Linked DNA regions of Homo sapiens: regions 1, 2, 4 and 5 are each linked to region 3. Evidence: promoter capture Hi-C in 16 types of primary human blood cells and fetal thymus (Javierre and others, 2016). All regions are on one chromosome and are shown on one strand. Each heading gives the region's core, a stretch centred on a gene start or on the middle of the fragment in contact. The rest is flanking DNA. Distances are from core to core; before and after follow the strand shown. Region 1 overlaps TMEM131L (transmembrane 131 like). Region 2 has its middle 43 kb from the start of TRIM2. Region 3 holds the start of MND1 (meiotic nuclear divisions 1). Region 4 overlaps TMEM131L (transmembrane 131 like). Region 5 overlaps TMEM131L (transmembrane 131 like).

Region 1 (2,808 bases), core at 61-2,560, 200 kb after region 3:
TGCAGATATGCAGCCGCTGGCTCCAGGAAGTCTTTAGGGACCCCACGTCGCCTTCCCCAGGGTACTGGGATCTCCTACTCGTGGGACAAGGTGGAGACGTTTGTTTTCCTGGCAGCAGTTTGGAAACTGCCGGCGCGATACTTCGGCTTTCACCCCATTTGCTGGAACTTAGTCCCGTGGCCGTACCCAGATGCAGAGAAGCCTTGGAAATATGCCCACTTAAAAATTCCATTATGTGAAAGAAGACGAGAAGGGGGGATATTAGGGGCCAAAGAGCAACCTCTGTCACAGAACCTTGGGAAAGAAACAGTGAGATCTTTACCATTATTTCTCAAGGAAAAATTGCTTTTCATACAACATATGTTTAAGTCACATACCTCCCCCAAAAGGGGGGGAGGCGGAAAAAAACCCAACAAAACAAACACCCAGCAGTCCTCTGACTTGTGTTAAGGAGTCCTTGTTTTTCTGGGCACACTCTAGACTGGTTTCTCCAGTGCCAGTGTTTGTTGGGTTTCATATAAGAAAAATCGTTTTTAAAGTCCTCCTCTGACAGTGGGGTTATATTATATAAGTGAGCTTGGTGATAGTAAATTATACTTTATGGGCAAGTGTGTGGTCTATGCTAGTCTGCTGAATGGACAGCATGAAACTTCAATTAAAAAGGTTTCTGCTGCATTCCGTTTTAAAAACATTATGTTCAGAGGCTAGATTTTTTTTTTTTTTTTTTTTTTTTTTGAGGAGAGAAGACTTAACTTTTTGAATAATGACATATTGTCTGGGTATTCTGAGAGATGGGACTGGGCCCTGGTGGAGTGAAACACTGATATACATGTTAGTATTGTGCTCGACTGTAACAGCTGCTGTGAAGCAGGAGGCTCCCTTGCTCCTGCCGGCTCCTTTACTCATGAGGCTGGTCCTTCAAAGAATAGTTAGAAATTTTTCATTAGATTTTTCTGGCAATCTTGTTAACATTCTTTGTATTTGTCTGAAGATCATTTTGAGATATTTGCTCATATTGGGACTTTAAAAAAAAAACACCTGTCAGGGCCGGGCACGGTGGCTTACGCCTGTAATTCCAGCACTATGGGAGGCCGAGGCAGGCGGATCCCCTGAGGTTGAGAGTTCCAGACCAGCCTGACCAACGTGGAGAAACCCCGTCTCTACTAAAAATACAAAATTAGCCGGGCATGGTGGCGGGTGCCTGTAATCCCAGCTACTGGGGAAGGCTGAGGCAGGAGAATTGCTTGAACCCGGGAGGCGGAGGTTGCAGTGAGCTGAGATCGCGCCACTGCCCTCCAGCCTGGGCAACAAGAGTGAAACTTTGTCTCAAAAATAAAAACAAAAAAACAAAAAAAAAAACCCCAAAACAAAAAACATCTGTCAGTTCAGTGTGTTTTAGTAAAATATTATTCCGGGTCATAAAGTTACATAGGATTGTTCTTCGGTCCTACTGAGAAACTCTAGAAATTAATTATCTTTTGTACTTCACTTTTTATCTTATCAGCCTTTCTGTGATCTGTATGCCTTAACTTGTGTTTTTTCACTTCGTTAAAACTCTTCCTCCAGCCTTACCTGAAGACAGCACGTTCAGCCTTCTAGATCCTACTCAAATGCCACCTCTTCCAAAAGGCATTTCCTAACCTATTCCACGCCAGGTGATCTCTTCCTCTTGTGGATACTTAAAGTACTGTGGACTGTGCTCTCCCTTGTATCATATGTGTTATGTATTGTAGGAGGTGTGTGATACATACATAACACTGTGAGCCTGTGAAAGTTAGGCAGCCTGTTTTTATTTGCCTTTGGGGATTTCTGAATCTAACTGCCTTGGGTAGATAGAAGAAATGAATGTTGGTGGGATTTGGCATGTCTGCCTTTACAGTATGAATAAGTTCAGCTACCAAGTTGCTTAAAGTGTTATAGATGAGCTTTAAAACGTGGCTAGTGCACCTTTAGGAAACTAATAACTTAAATTTTTATGGACACTTTGAGAACTCACGGTTGGTTTTCTAAAAATAACATGCACGGTAATGCATGAGCTTGCATTGTCCACCCATGATCAAAGAGGAAAAAGTCCTTCATCCCTAGACTCCCTTATCTGCTTAGGGTTCGTGTGAATTTCTGCTTTGGCTTCTTTTTTTTATGTATAGTGTCTGGCAAACTCTGTTAATGCTGGAGGTATCTAATACTGAATGTTCGTGCTAACTTGTCCTAGAGCTGAAAGGTAATGCAAAATGTATTTTGTATTTTGCAGATGTTATAATCACATTTCATTATTTTAACATATAGTAGAGTGACCTACCCTAGCGTCTAGGAAAGATGTCAAATCTTTAAACCACAGAGGAGAAGCCATGAAAGTAAGGAGAAAGTTGGAATGGGAGTTGGAGTAAGGAGAAAGTTGGGATGGGAGTTGGGGAAATGTGAGCTTAATTGCTGGCCTATTCTTTAATAGGGTTTTGCAAAGTCCTTTAACTAGTTGGCTAAAGTAGATCTTTATAGTATGTGGAATGTGGTAAGAGTAAATATGTAAATATAATAATGTATTTTAAAATTCTTTGAATTGGAGAGAAAATGCCTTTTGGTCCTCATGGAATGTGGGGGTGAGGGACAGATTTCTTTGGTTGCACATGGAGTTATGGAAGACACAAGAGTCAGGGTATCAACAAAGCTTTCAGCTGGGCAGGTAGGCCAAGGCACTCACTGGCGTGGGAATATAGTACAGCCAGCTGAGGGGCGTTGCAAGCAAGATGGTGAACTGCATCTTTTATTCCATTGGGAGGTGCCTGTGGGCCATCCACGGGATGAGGCCTG
Region 2 (2,794 bases), core at 280-2,779, 180 kb before region 3:
ACCATCTTTTTATGACCTTCTAAGCGAAATATTTCTCTGAAAATTTCCCCTGCTTTCCCTCTCCCCTTTCCTTAATTCCCTTAAGTTAGTCTTTGTTAAGCATTATAATTGAGTAGAGTAAGCTGTGTTATCTAACACTTTTCTACTGCTTTTACAAGCACAAAGATGAATCGGAGATTCAACAAAGCTTCAAGGTTCTAGAAATAAGCGCTTTTGAGACAGGCGAGCAAAAATCACCAATCTCATTAGCTTCTCCAAAGGAAACAAATAAGTCTTGTGAGCTACTACTGGGATTTTTAGAGTTTTCCAGGCCTCATTTTAAAGAGATGGGGACTCACTGTGTTGTCCAGGCTGATCTTGAACTCCTGGCCTCAAGGCATCCTCCCACTTCAGCCTCCCAAAGTGCTGGGATTATAGGCATGAGCCACCATGCTGGCCATCTAGGCTTCAAGGGATGTTTGTTTGTTTGTTTGTTTGGAGACAAGGTTCCCACCCTGTTGCCCAAGCTGGAGTACAGTAATGTGATCATGGCTCACTGCAGCCTCAACCTCTCAGGCTCAAGCGATCCTTATACTTCAGCCTCCCAAGTAGCTGGGACTATAGGCATGCACCACCACACCTGGCTAATTTTTAAAATTTATTTTTTTCATAGAGACAAGGGTCTCTGTATGTTGCCCGGGGCTGATCTCAAACTCCTGGGCCGAAGTGATCTGAGCCTCCTGCTTTAGCCTCCCGAAGTGCTGCAGTTACAGGCGTGAGCCACCATGCCTGGCCAGGCTTCATTTTTAAAAAGGGGAGGGGAGGGTTGGGAGCTAGCTCTCTGGCTCACAAACAATAATGACTTCAATTTCTGTTCTTTCAATTGATTTTTATGTTTCCCTGGGAGGGAGAGGAAGACTAGGCATGCTCATCTTGCCAAAGTGATTAACTCTTCATTGGCCAGCCTCTTTGGACACCCATTTACTGCTCATTCTCTAGTATTCTAAGGAACAAAGATTTTGTTGTACTTTAAACTAAAATAGCTTGTTTGTTCTAAGAACGTAATACTAAATTTTGAGATGGAGACTGTATTTATACAGAAACACTTTGCAAGCAAATGTTTATAACCAGCCCCTACTGCTTTTACAAGCACAGAGATGAATCAAATATACACAAAAGCTTTGTGCTAGAAAGAACCTCCATGAATTGAACGTACGTGCTATATGGTAGGCATCATTCTTGTCACTGTGCATGCATGATCCCATTCAGCCTTAACAGTTATCCTATGAAAAGTTATTATCCTCGTTTTAGAGATGAGAAAACTGAGACTTAGAGAGATTGAGTACATTTGCAAAGTCGCTAGCTGTTAAAAAGCAGGTGCAGGAGTTGGAGTCATGTCTGTCTGAATTTAAAGCCGTTGCTTTTCCTGATATACTCTGCATATGACATGATGCACAGCAGAATCCTTGGGAATATTCTGCTCCCCTTGGAGTTCCCTGCTTAGTGAGTGCTTCGTGCTCAAAGAACTCTCACAGACAACGCTAGTACACTTATTAGTTTTCTTTGTATCCTTTGGTTCTCACAGGCCAACTGCTACAAGGCAGGTCCAACAAATTTCCTAGATGACTGAATATTGGGCAGTATTCCAAGGTGGTCAATTATGTCTAAGACTCACACAAAAGCATTAGCAAGGATTGCTCCATGGATCAAGAGCAAATCAATGTACAATTGTCCTCTGCAGCTAACTTATTAGGGAACATAAAGTTGCAATATTTCACTGGAAACTTCCATCCACTAGAAAAAAATGAGTGCTTAAGCAAATATGGCCAGACTCTGATTATGATTAAGCATAAACCTCCGAAATGAAATTCGTGTGTACATTCTCTCTGCGTGGGACCAATTTGGCCAGCTTACTTTAAGGAAAAGCTTTCTGTTGTCTGCATTCTTGCCAAATTTCTAAACTTTCAAGGGTAAGGACTGTAGTTTTAACTCTTTATTCTGGCATTTAGTCATTTAGCTTACTGCTTGGCATATAGTACATCTTCAAGAAATACTTGTTTGGATTGAGTGTATCAGGGTTCTCCAGAAAAACAGAACCAGTGGGAAATATATACATATAGATATATAGATGATATAGATATAGATGATATGGATATTGATATATACAGAGATTTATTATAAGGAATTGGCTCATATGATTATGGAGATAGACAAGTCCAATCTGTAGGATGGGGCAGCATGCTAGAGACCCAAGGAAAGCCAGAGTTCCAATTCCAAGGCCTTCAGTCAGAAAGAGCTGATGCTTCAGCTGAAGTCCACAGACCATCTGCTGGAAAGTTCTCTCTTACACAGGAAAGCATTCATCCTTTTGTTCTAGTGACACCTGCATTAGTTAAATAAGATCCACCCACATTATGGAGGGCAATCTTCTTTACTGATGAAAACGCTAATCTCAGGCAAAAAGACCCCCATAGAAATACCCAGAATAATGTTTGACCAAATATCTGGGCACTGCATGGCTCAGGCACATAGACACATAAAATTAGCCATTACAATGAGTGAATGAGTAAATAAGAAACAGTAGTTTCTGAACTGTGGCAGAGCAAGTGGACTTCAGGCATTGGCCTCTGTTGTAGCCTTGAGTTATACCACACCTCAGTAATAGGAAGAGCTCTTCTTTCCAGTGAGGCAGCACCAACAGACTATAGGGCTTGAACCCAAGATGCCACCTGAGGGGAATTCTCATGTGGCCACTTGTGTCCAAGTGATCAGTTACCACTGAATTATGTGAATTAAAGAAACAGGTTGGGACATG
Region 3 (2,700 bases), core at 24-2,523:
CAAGTAGCACAAATGTATATACCACTACTGTAGTTACTTAATGTACTCATTTATCATTTTAAAATTACCTTATGTACCATCAGTTACATGGTATAACTCTTACAGGAAAAACCAAATTAATGGAACTCTGCAATTCAATGTACCCCTTCCTCTGCCTCCAGCAGAAGCAACAGGGGACATAAATTCCAACTTTAGATGCTACTCTTATAGCATCTACAAGACTTACTACACTGTGTGTGTGTGTGTGTGTGTGTGTGCGTGCGTGTGTGTGTGTTACAGAGTCTCACTCTGTCGCCCAGGCTGGAGTGCAGTGGCGGGGTCTTGGCTCACTGCAACCTCTGCCTCCTGGGTCCAAGCGATTCTCCTGCCTCAGCCTCCCGAGTAGCTGGGATTGTACAGGCGTCCGCCACCACGCCTGGCTAATTTTTGTATTTTTATTAGAGATGGGATTTCACCATGTTGGCCAGGCTGGTCTCAAACTCCCTACCTCAAGTGATTTGCCCGCCTCGGCCTCCCAAATTGCTGGGATTACAGGTGTGAGCCACAGCGCCCAACCGTACTTCTTACACCTAAAAATGGTTCAAAACACCATAGAATAATTTTCAAAATAATTGAATTCTGAGTTAAAATTTTTCAGCACTTTCAGGGGCCTGAGCTTTTGCTATGAATCTGGATCTATTCTCAAGCCATGAAGTAGCGTATTTTTGACCATGTTGATTTGAAATTCATTCCGTTGTTTCCTTCTTTTTTAAAACCTAAGGGAAAAACAAACAGACATACACAGGATTTGAAAAGCTGGAAAGCAGTGGGTAGCGGCTCGGGAGAAGATGAGGGGTCAGATTAGAAGACGAGAAAGGAATCCAGTCCGCCCCAGACAGGACAAGTCCGGAAGGATGGAGGCAGCGTTTCCTTCCTCAACAGCCTAAACGCCTCTATTTTTTACATCCAAACTTAGGCCATATTTCTGCGGCGCCAAGAAAACGCAGTAAAAGCAAAGGCAAGATGTCCTTAAAAAAAAAAAAGGTCACATTCACAGAATACCGAGGAGACGGAGGCAGCTCTGCAACCCGTCCACTGAGACGCGGACACGCTCCCCACAGCCCCGGCCCCAGGCCCGCGCCCCTTCCCCCGCCGGCGGCTCGGATGGGTCGCTAGGGGTCGCTGCGCGCCGCGCGGGCGAGGACCGGCCTCTTTCCCCCACCTCCACCGTCTCGCTGCTCCGCCCCCGCGGCGTAGTCGGCGCCAAAATCAAACGCGTCCTGGCCTGTCCCGCCCCTCTCCCCAAGCGCGGGCCCGGCCAGCGGAAGCCCCTGCGCCCGCGCCATGGTAAGGACTGAGGCTACGGTCCCGCGTCTTCTTCCTCCCTAGTGTGTGGGCTTCGCCGCCCCTCGGCTGCATGTGGATCCCGGCCTGGCGTTGACCGCCATTCCGGGCCGCGGGAGCGGTCGCCCGGCTCTCGGCCTCACCGTGTAGGGGCCCAGCCCGGCCCCGCCGCAGCCACTCCGCACTCTGCGGCGTTCCCCGCCGCTCCTGTCCGGAGTCCCGAGGCGCGGGGGCATCCGCGGCCTCCCCGCCGGCTGCACCCCGCGTCTGTCCCCAGGGCCCGTTCGGGCGGGTTAGGTTAGAACGCGGGAAGCGTTCGCGAACGTGACCCGAGAACTTCACCAACCTGGATTTATCTAAAAGACCACGGGGCCCTTGAGAACCTGGGCTCCCTACGCCTCCAGCTTCGGCCCCGCGTGGTGTAGCCCCCCCCATTAAGAACGGGGAGAGAAAGCGCAAGTGGGCGGGAGGGACTGCGGGGAGCGAACGTCTTGATCCCAAAGCGCACTCCTGGTTTGTCACCATTGAGTGGTTTTCTGTATTGTAATATGTAGAGCACATTCCAGAACTGCTCAGTTTCGAGTTACCTAATGGATCTTCACTGTGTGCCAATTAGTCGATTTCTGTGAAAACGCCCCGGTTTCTGCCAAAGGGCAGGAGTCGCTGCTCTTGTGCCGGGTGCTGCTGGTTGTGTAGGGCGCTGTTGCTTTTTTAAGGACGCTCTGCACTGAATTAGGCTTCCTCGTGGGTCATGATCAGTTAAGTCCTGGTAAGATCGGCTTTGTGAGCTTAACGTCTTTCTGCTCATCAAATCATTTTCATAAACCTTCAAAGTTTCATGCCGTTTTTTCTGCTTCAGTTGGCGAAGAATCAACATCTGGTTAAATGGATCTAAGATTTTAATATCTTCATTTACTTACGTGGCCGTTAAATGTTGCCGAGCTAAGGGGGGCAGGGTGGGACACCAGGATCCAGTTGTATGGTATTTATTTGAAGATATTTGTCCAGATGTAGTTATAAATGATAACGGCTTCTTTGTGGTTAAACTAACAACCCAGCCACCTGGGCGTGAAGTGCTCTAAGGAGCCAAACAGGACTACAGTTAAAACAAATCTGTTAGCAGTGCCCTTCTGTGTTACAATTTTTCTCTGCAGAGTTGCTGGCCTCGTATAACTGACTTGGAGAACTGTGCAGCTCAAACGCGCGTTGTCCTTTTACCTAATCTATCTCTCTACACATGAATCACCTGCTAATACTAAATGTGTTAACTCTTTAGAAGCTTACCTCCGATAATAGAGAATCCTTTTAAAAAATTAAAGCTTTTGATAAGATGTGGACTTCCTATTTTTTAATATGTGATCGAGAAATAAATTTAGT
Region 4 (2,700 bases), core at 49-2,548, 210 kb after region 3:
CTTACTATGTCTGCCTGATATTATGTACTTAAAAAAAAAACTAGGACTAAGGATATGTTGTAAGGGGAAGCCCAATATTTGGTTTATGACAGTCTGTCTGGGTAAACGTTGTTCCTGATTTTTATTACATATCAACATGTTTGCACGTTGGTTATTGTCTATATTTAAGTAGAGATAGAACTGTGTTAGCTAAAGACAGTTGGACCTGTGGAGGTGGAAGAGGAGGGGAAGGAAAGATGTGAGACTCACAGCTCCAGTCTGAAGCGAAAGGATTCATCCTAAGTTAGTGGTAATATTTGCTATATCTAAGAGCAGATAATTGGATGCTGATCAGTTTGGGGATTCTTAGGGATTCATAATACTGATAAGGGTGCACAATATACAAATGTCTGTTAACAGAAATTGTCAAAAAAAGAAAGTCTGTGAAAGACAGTTTATCAAAGGAGGCCATTCCAAGTGGCTGACTGGGGACCTTTCTTTCAGGTAATTCCAGCAATGGGGAAAACTTCCTTCAGAATTATTTTCTTACCTACTGAAGAAGGAAGCATTGAAAGTTCCTTATTTATTAATACCTCTTCGTATGGAGTCCTTTCCTATCATGTGAGTAACTTTTTCCTTTTGTCACAACTTTGGTTGGTGACTTAACTGTAGGGGTGTGTGTGTATATTTTTAAAAAGACTTTTGGAAATGTTGTCACCTGGTTTATGTCGTTAAAATACAAGACTGTTAGTGATGTTAAAATCATCAGCATTCACCCTTTTCTGCCTGACATGCCACAGTTGGCTGGCTTTCCTACTGATGACGGAGCTATAGTCCTACTGTGGGTCTTTGGAGGATACTAGAACAAAGCAAAGCAATCTGTCACACAGTTTCCCATCATAAAATACAGAAGGCTTTCAAAACTCATGGCTCTCACCTCACGGGCGTTCAGAAGGAGGTGCTCTAAGGACAGTCTCTAGTGATTTTGCCTACCTTCCCTCTTTGGCTCAGGAATATTTCTAATTAGGAGACATTGATTGTGTGCTTGGAGGCTGGTTCCAAGGGAGCTCACTATTCATATCAAGGTACCAGGAAGGGAGCTTGAAGAATCTTGTTGCTATTCTCAGAAATAGGAATCTTTACCTTAAATGGTACCTGATATGGCATTTAACAAGATCTGGCATCAAGTAATTTAAGTTCCAAGATCAGTAATTTTTGTGGTTATTTCTTACTGGATTCCATTAAAGAGGTCCCATATCAGAAGAGTTGCCTACTTGTGAACAGATTTGCTACAGTGAGGAACATTCAGCTTAAATACAGCATTCTAATCTGTTTCATTTTTTATTTTTTAGTTTTTGAGGCAGGGTCTCACTTTGTTGCCCAGGCTGGAGTGCAGTGGTGTGATCAGGCTGACTGCAGCCACCTCCCAGGCACAAGCGATTCTCCTGCCTCAGCCTCCCACCACTGCCTGGCTAATTTTTGTATTTTTAGCAGAAACAGGCTTTCACCATGTTGGCCAGGCTGGTCTCAAACTCCTGTCCTCAAATGATCCACCTCCCTGGGCCTCCCAAAGTGTTGGGATTACAGGCGTGAGCCACCGTGCTCAGCCAGCATTCTGCATTTCTGAAACATTCATTGTGTTTTTTGTAGACAAAGATAAATAAAATAATTGGATTAGTAGAGTCTTGAAGGCCATGCTGATGAATACAGATTTCCTTTGGAGACGTGCTTTAGCATTATGGCAAATGTGTTTTAAAACTCTTAACAGAGGAGCAATTCTCTCTCTTTTTCCGCAGGTATCTGGAATTGGCACTCGTAGAATCTCTACAGAAGGGTCTGCAAAGCAGCTACCAAATGCTTATTTTCTGCTTCCAAAGGTCCAGAGCATTCAGCTGTCTCAAATGCAGGTCATTTTAATAGATTTACTTTGAATGCTGGTGGCCACCAAACTTTGTAACCTTCTCAGAATTGGTTATTTTACTATTTTCTGCTTTTTGAAAAAATTATATAGAAGTAATATACATATATAAAATATCAGTGGATTCCACCTAACTTCTTTTTAATGGCTGTGGAGTTCACAGTGTTGATATTCCAGAGTTTGCTTAATCTTATTGTTGGTCTTTTGAAATGTTTCCTGTTTTTCACTGTTATTACCGTTAGGCCATATACCTATTTTATAAGTTTCTTTAATTTTCCTTCTGAATCCTCTGTTTCCTTGGGGCATGTTTCATAAAGAGGAGAGATTCTTTAGTTAAAGACTGTGAACGATTTTGTAGAGCTTGTTAAATCTTACCAGCTTGCTTTTCAGGGAGGCAGCCCCCATGGTCACAAGTAATAACAGGCCCCTAAGGATGTCCTGCTTTTAGCCCTGCCCGGATGGGGCTTGGTGGGAAGAACTATTTCTGATGTTATAGTAGATGTATAATGATAAGTTTAAATTCTTTTAATATACATTTCATGAATCATTTTATAGGGTTGGCTACTTTTTCCCTTTGATTATCCATATTTCCTTGTAACTGGATAATTTTATAATTGAGAAAAGCTCTTGAACCAATATATTATGAAACTTACCTCTTCTTTCTGATTGGTAAATAAAGAACATTGCTTAGAATTTGTAGTCAGTACCATTAGTACCTGGGGCTTTCATTCATTCAGCGGTTTTCCTGAGCCTCTGCTTTGTGCCAGGCCTTGGTCTAGAGTTTGTATCTGCGTAGAGCCTAC
Region 5 (2,700 bases), core at 174-2,673, 170 kb after region 3:
AAAATAAAAAATAACAGCTTTATTGAGATAGAATTTACACTTCATAGAATCCCACATTCACATTACTTCACCCTGTTTTTTTCTTTTCTTTTTTTTTTGAGATGGAGTCTCGCTCTGTCCCCCAGGCTGGAGTGTGGTGACGCAATCGTGGCTCACTGCAACTTCCGCCTCCTGGGTTCAAGCAATTCTCTGCCTCGGCCTCCCGGATAGCTGGGATTATAGGCGCCTGCCACCACACTCGGCTTATTTTGTATTTTTAGTAGAGACAGGGGTCTCCCCATGTTGGCCAGGCTGGTCTCGAACTCCCGACCTCAGGTGATCCACCTGCCTCGGCCTCCCGAAGTGCTGGGATTGCAGGCATTAGCCACCGTGCTCAGCCTACTTCACCCTTTTAAAGCATACAATTCAGTGGTTTTTAATATATTCATAGTTTTGCAACTATCACTGCTATCGAATTTCAGAAATTTTCATCAACTTATTAGAAAACACCACTCCCATCAAGCAGTCACTTCCTGCCCCTGGCCACCACTCCATTCCCCTGACAACCTCTAATCTACTTTCTGTCTCTATAAATTTGCCTGTTCTGAATATTTCATATAAATAGAATCATGTAGCATGTGGCCTTTTTTGACTGACTTCTATTTAGCTTAATGTTTTCGGGGTTTACCACATGGCATGTAACAATACTTTATTCCTTTCTGCTGCCAAACAATATTCCATTGTATAGATAGATCACATTTTATTCATCATTTGTACATTTGGATTGTTTCCAATTATTGGCTATTATGAATAATGCTGTGAACATTTGTGTGCAAGTGTTTGTGTGGACGTATGTTTTCAATTCTATTGGTTATATATCTACGAGTGGTATTGCTGGTTTATATGGTAACTTTATGTGTTCCATTTTGAGGAACTGCCAAATTGTTTTCCAAAGTAGTTGTACCATACCTTACTTTTCATACATGACTTTTCTACAGGTAAAGTATGATAGTTGCAATTTTTCTACATTCTCACCAACCAACAGTTAATAGATGAGTTTATTATAGCCCTTCTAGAGGGTGCGATGTGGTATCATTGTTTTGATTTGCATTTTTCTAATCATGTTGAGCCTCTTTTCTATGTGCTCATTGACCATTTGTATATATTCTTTGGAGAAATGTCTGTTCAAATCCTCTGCCCATTTTTTTTTTTTTTTAAAGATAGGGTCTCACTGTGTTGCCCAGGCTGATCTCAAGTGATCCTCCCATCTTGACCTCACACAGCGTTGGGATTATAGACGTGAGCCACTGGTCTCAGCTCAAATCCTTTGCCCATTTTTACGTTAGATTAATTGTATTTTTATTTTTGAGTCATGTACTATAAATGGTATGTTATTTTTATATATTTTTAAATGAGATTAAATGACAATTTTGTAAGTTGCTTTTTAAACTTAATAATCTTCCCATGTCTATATCTAAGTACATCAGTTTTACTGACTGCCTTATAGTTCATTATATGAATGTTCTATAATTTTAAAATCTAATTCTTTGTTTTTTCACCCAGGCTGGATTGCAGTGGCAAGATCTTGGCTCACTGCAGCTTCCACCTCCCAGGCTCAAGCGATCCTCCCACCTCAGCCTCCCAAGTAGCTGAAACTAGAGGCATGCACCACTGTGCCGGGCTAATTGTTATATATTTTTTAGAGACAGGGTTTCGCCATATTACCCAGGCTCGTCTTGAAATCCTGGGCTCAAACAATTCACCTGCCTCAGCCTCCCAAAGTGCTGGGATTACAGATGTGAGCCACTGTGCCTAGCCCTAAAATCGAATTCTTTATACGTGAAGTTTATTTAAAAGGAAAGAAAACCCCACCAGGCTATATCTACATTTGAATGCTTGTGCAATCATTTCTTTAGGATACATTACTAGAACTGGAATTGCTGGGTCAAAAAGTGGGCATGCTTCAAGGCCTTTGAAAAATATTCTGTACTTGCCCTCCAGAAAGGTTGTTTCAGTTATACCCTTATGCTAATGTCTTGAGATTGTCAGTTTCTTACGAGCCTCCCAGCACTAGGTACCAGTACTTTTTGTTCATCTTTTAAATTTTATTTATTTATTATTATTATTCTTTTGAGACGGAGTCTTGCTCCGTCACTTAGGCTGGAGTGCAGTGGGGGCGATCTTGGCTCACTGCAACCTCCGCATCCCGGGTTCCAACGATTCTCCTGCCTCAGGCTCCTGAGTAGCTGGGATTACAGGTGCGCGCCACCATGCCTGGCTAATTTTTGTATTTTTAGTAGAGATGGGGTTTCACCGTGTTGGCCAGGCTGGTCTCAAACTCCTGACCTCATGATCCACCCACCTCGGCCTCCCGGAGTGCTGGGATTACAGGCGTGAGCCACCACGCCTGGCCAGCTCATCTTTTAAATTTTAATCTAAGAGGTCCAAATTGGTATTATATACTTCTTTTAGTTTGCATGTACTTATGAAGATGAAGTTGGTTGAAGTTTCCTTTGTTTCCACCATTGGACTTATTTGCTATGCCTGGAGATCACTTCCTGTGCCGCCTCCAGACCTCTGCTGGGACATCCCTTAATCTAGGAAGCATTTCCCACCTCTTCCCTCAACTGCACAGGCACAGACATGTTCTCTCATCCTCCCTTGCACGGGTCCTTTACAAGGCCCTGGGCGGGTTCCTAGGAATGTTTTTACATGACTGTG

The links. Contacts are between HindIII fragments. The CHiCAGO score rates a contact against its expected background, and 5 or more counts as called.
Region 1: a contact is called between a fragment that was not itself captured here and the fragment with the promoter of MND1 in region 3, in 15 of 17 cell types (naive CD4 T cells, activated CD4 T cells, naive CD8 T cells and 12 more). The highest score is 19.8, in naive CD4 T cells.
Region 2: a fragment that was not itself captured here is called in contact with the fragment with the promoter of MND1 in region 3 in 1 of 17 cell types (endothelial precursors); the score reaches 6.0 in endothelial precursors.
Region 4: a contact is called between a fragment that was not itself captured here and the fragment with the promoter of MND1 in region 3, in 15 of 17 cell types (naive CD8 T cells, activated CD4 T cells, naive CD4 T cells and 12 more). The highest score is 18.2, in naive CD8 T cells.
Region 5: a fragment that was not itself captured here is called in contact with the fragment with the promoter of MND1 in region 3 in 11 of 17 cell types (naive CD4 T cells, naive B cells, naive CD8 T cells and 8 more); the score reaches 11.6 in naive CD4 T cells.

What each region holds. Positions count from the first base shown.
Region 1 is chr4:153,538,784-153,541,591 of GRCh38, forward strand. All of the region lies in intron 3 of TMEM131L (transmembrane 131 like), which reads left to right. All of the region lies in intron 1 of LOC105377498 (a long non-coding RNA gene), which reads right to left. Among named protein-coding and RNA genes, the nearest start is that of TMEM131L, 74 kb to the left of the region's middle. The HindIII fragment of the contact is 2,706 bases long and covers 1-2,663 here.
Region 2 is chr4:153,160,135-153,162,928 of GRCh38, forward strand. It overlaps a transcript of TRIM2 not described here. Among named protein-coding and RNA genes, the nearest start is that of TRIM2, 43 kb to the right of the region's middle. The HindIII fragment of the contact is 747 bases long and covers 1,157-1,903 here.
Region 3 is chr4:153,343,415-153,346,114 of GRCh38, forward strand. It overlaps MND1 (meiotic nuclear divisions 1), which reads left to right and starts at 1,274. Exons shown (of 8, transcript NM_032117.4): 1 at 1,274-1,326. The coding sequence starts at 1,324. RefSeq lists silencers at 1,043-1,352, 1,483-1,642 and enhancers at 2,123-2,182, 2,263-2,382. The HindIII fragment of the contact is 6,712 bases long and covers 1-2,600 here.
Region 4 is chr4:153,556,483-153,559,182 of GRCh38, forward strand. TMEM131L (transmembrane 131 like) reads left to right here. Exons shown (of 35, transcript NM_001131007.2): 6 at 484-600; 7 at 1,776-1,886. Among named protein-coding and RNA genes, the nearest start is that of TMEM131L, 91 kb to the left of the region's middle. The HindIII fragment of the contact is 7,356 bases long and covers 1-2,700 here.
Region 5 is chr4:153,514,733-153,517,432 of GRCh38, forward strand. All of the region lies in intron 3 of TMEM131L (transmembrane 131 like), which reads left to right. Among named protein-coding and RNA genes, the nearest start is that of TMEM131L, 50 kb to the left of the region's middle. The HindIII fragment of the contact is 2,996 bases long and covers 1-2,700 here.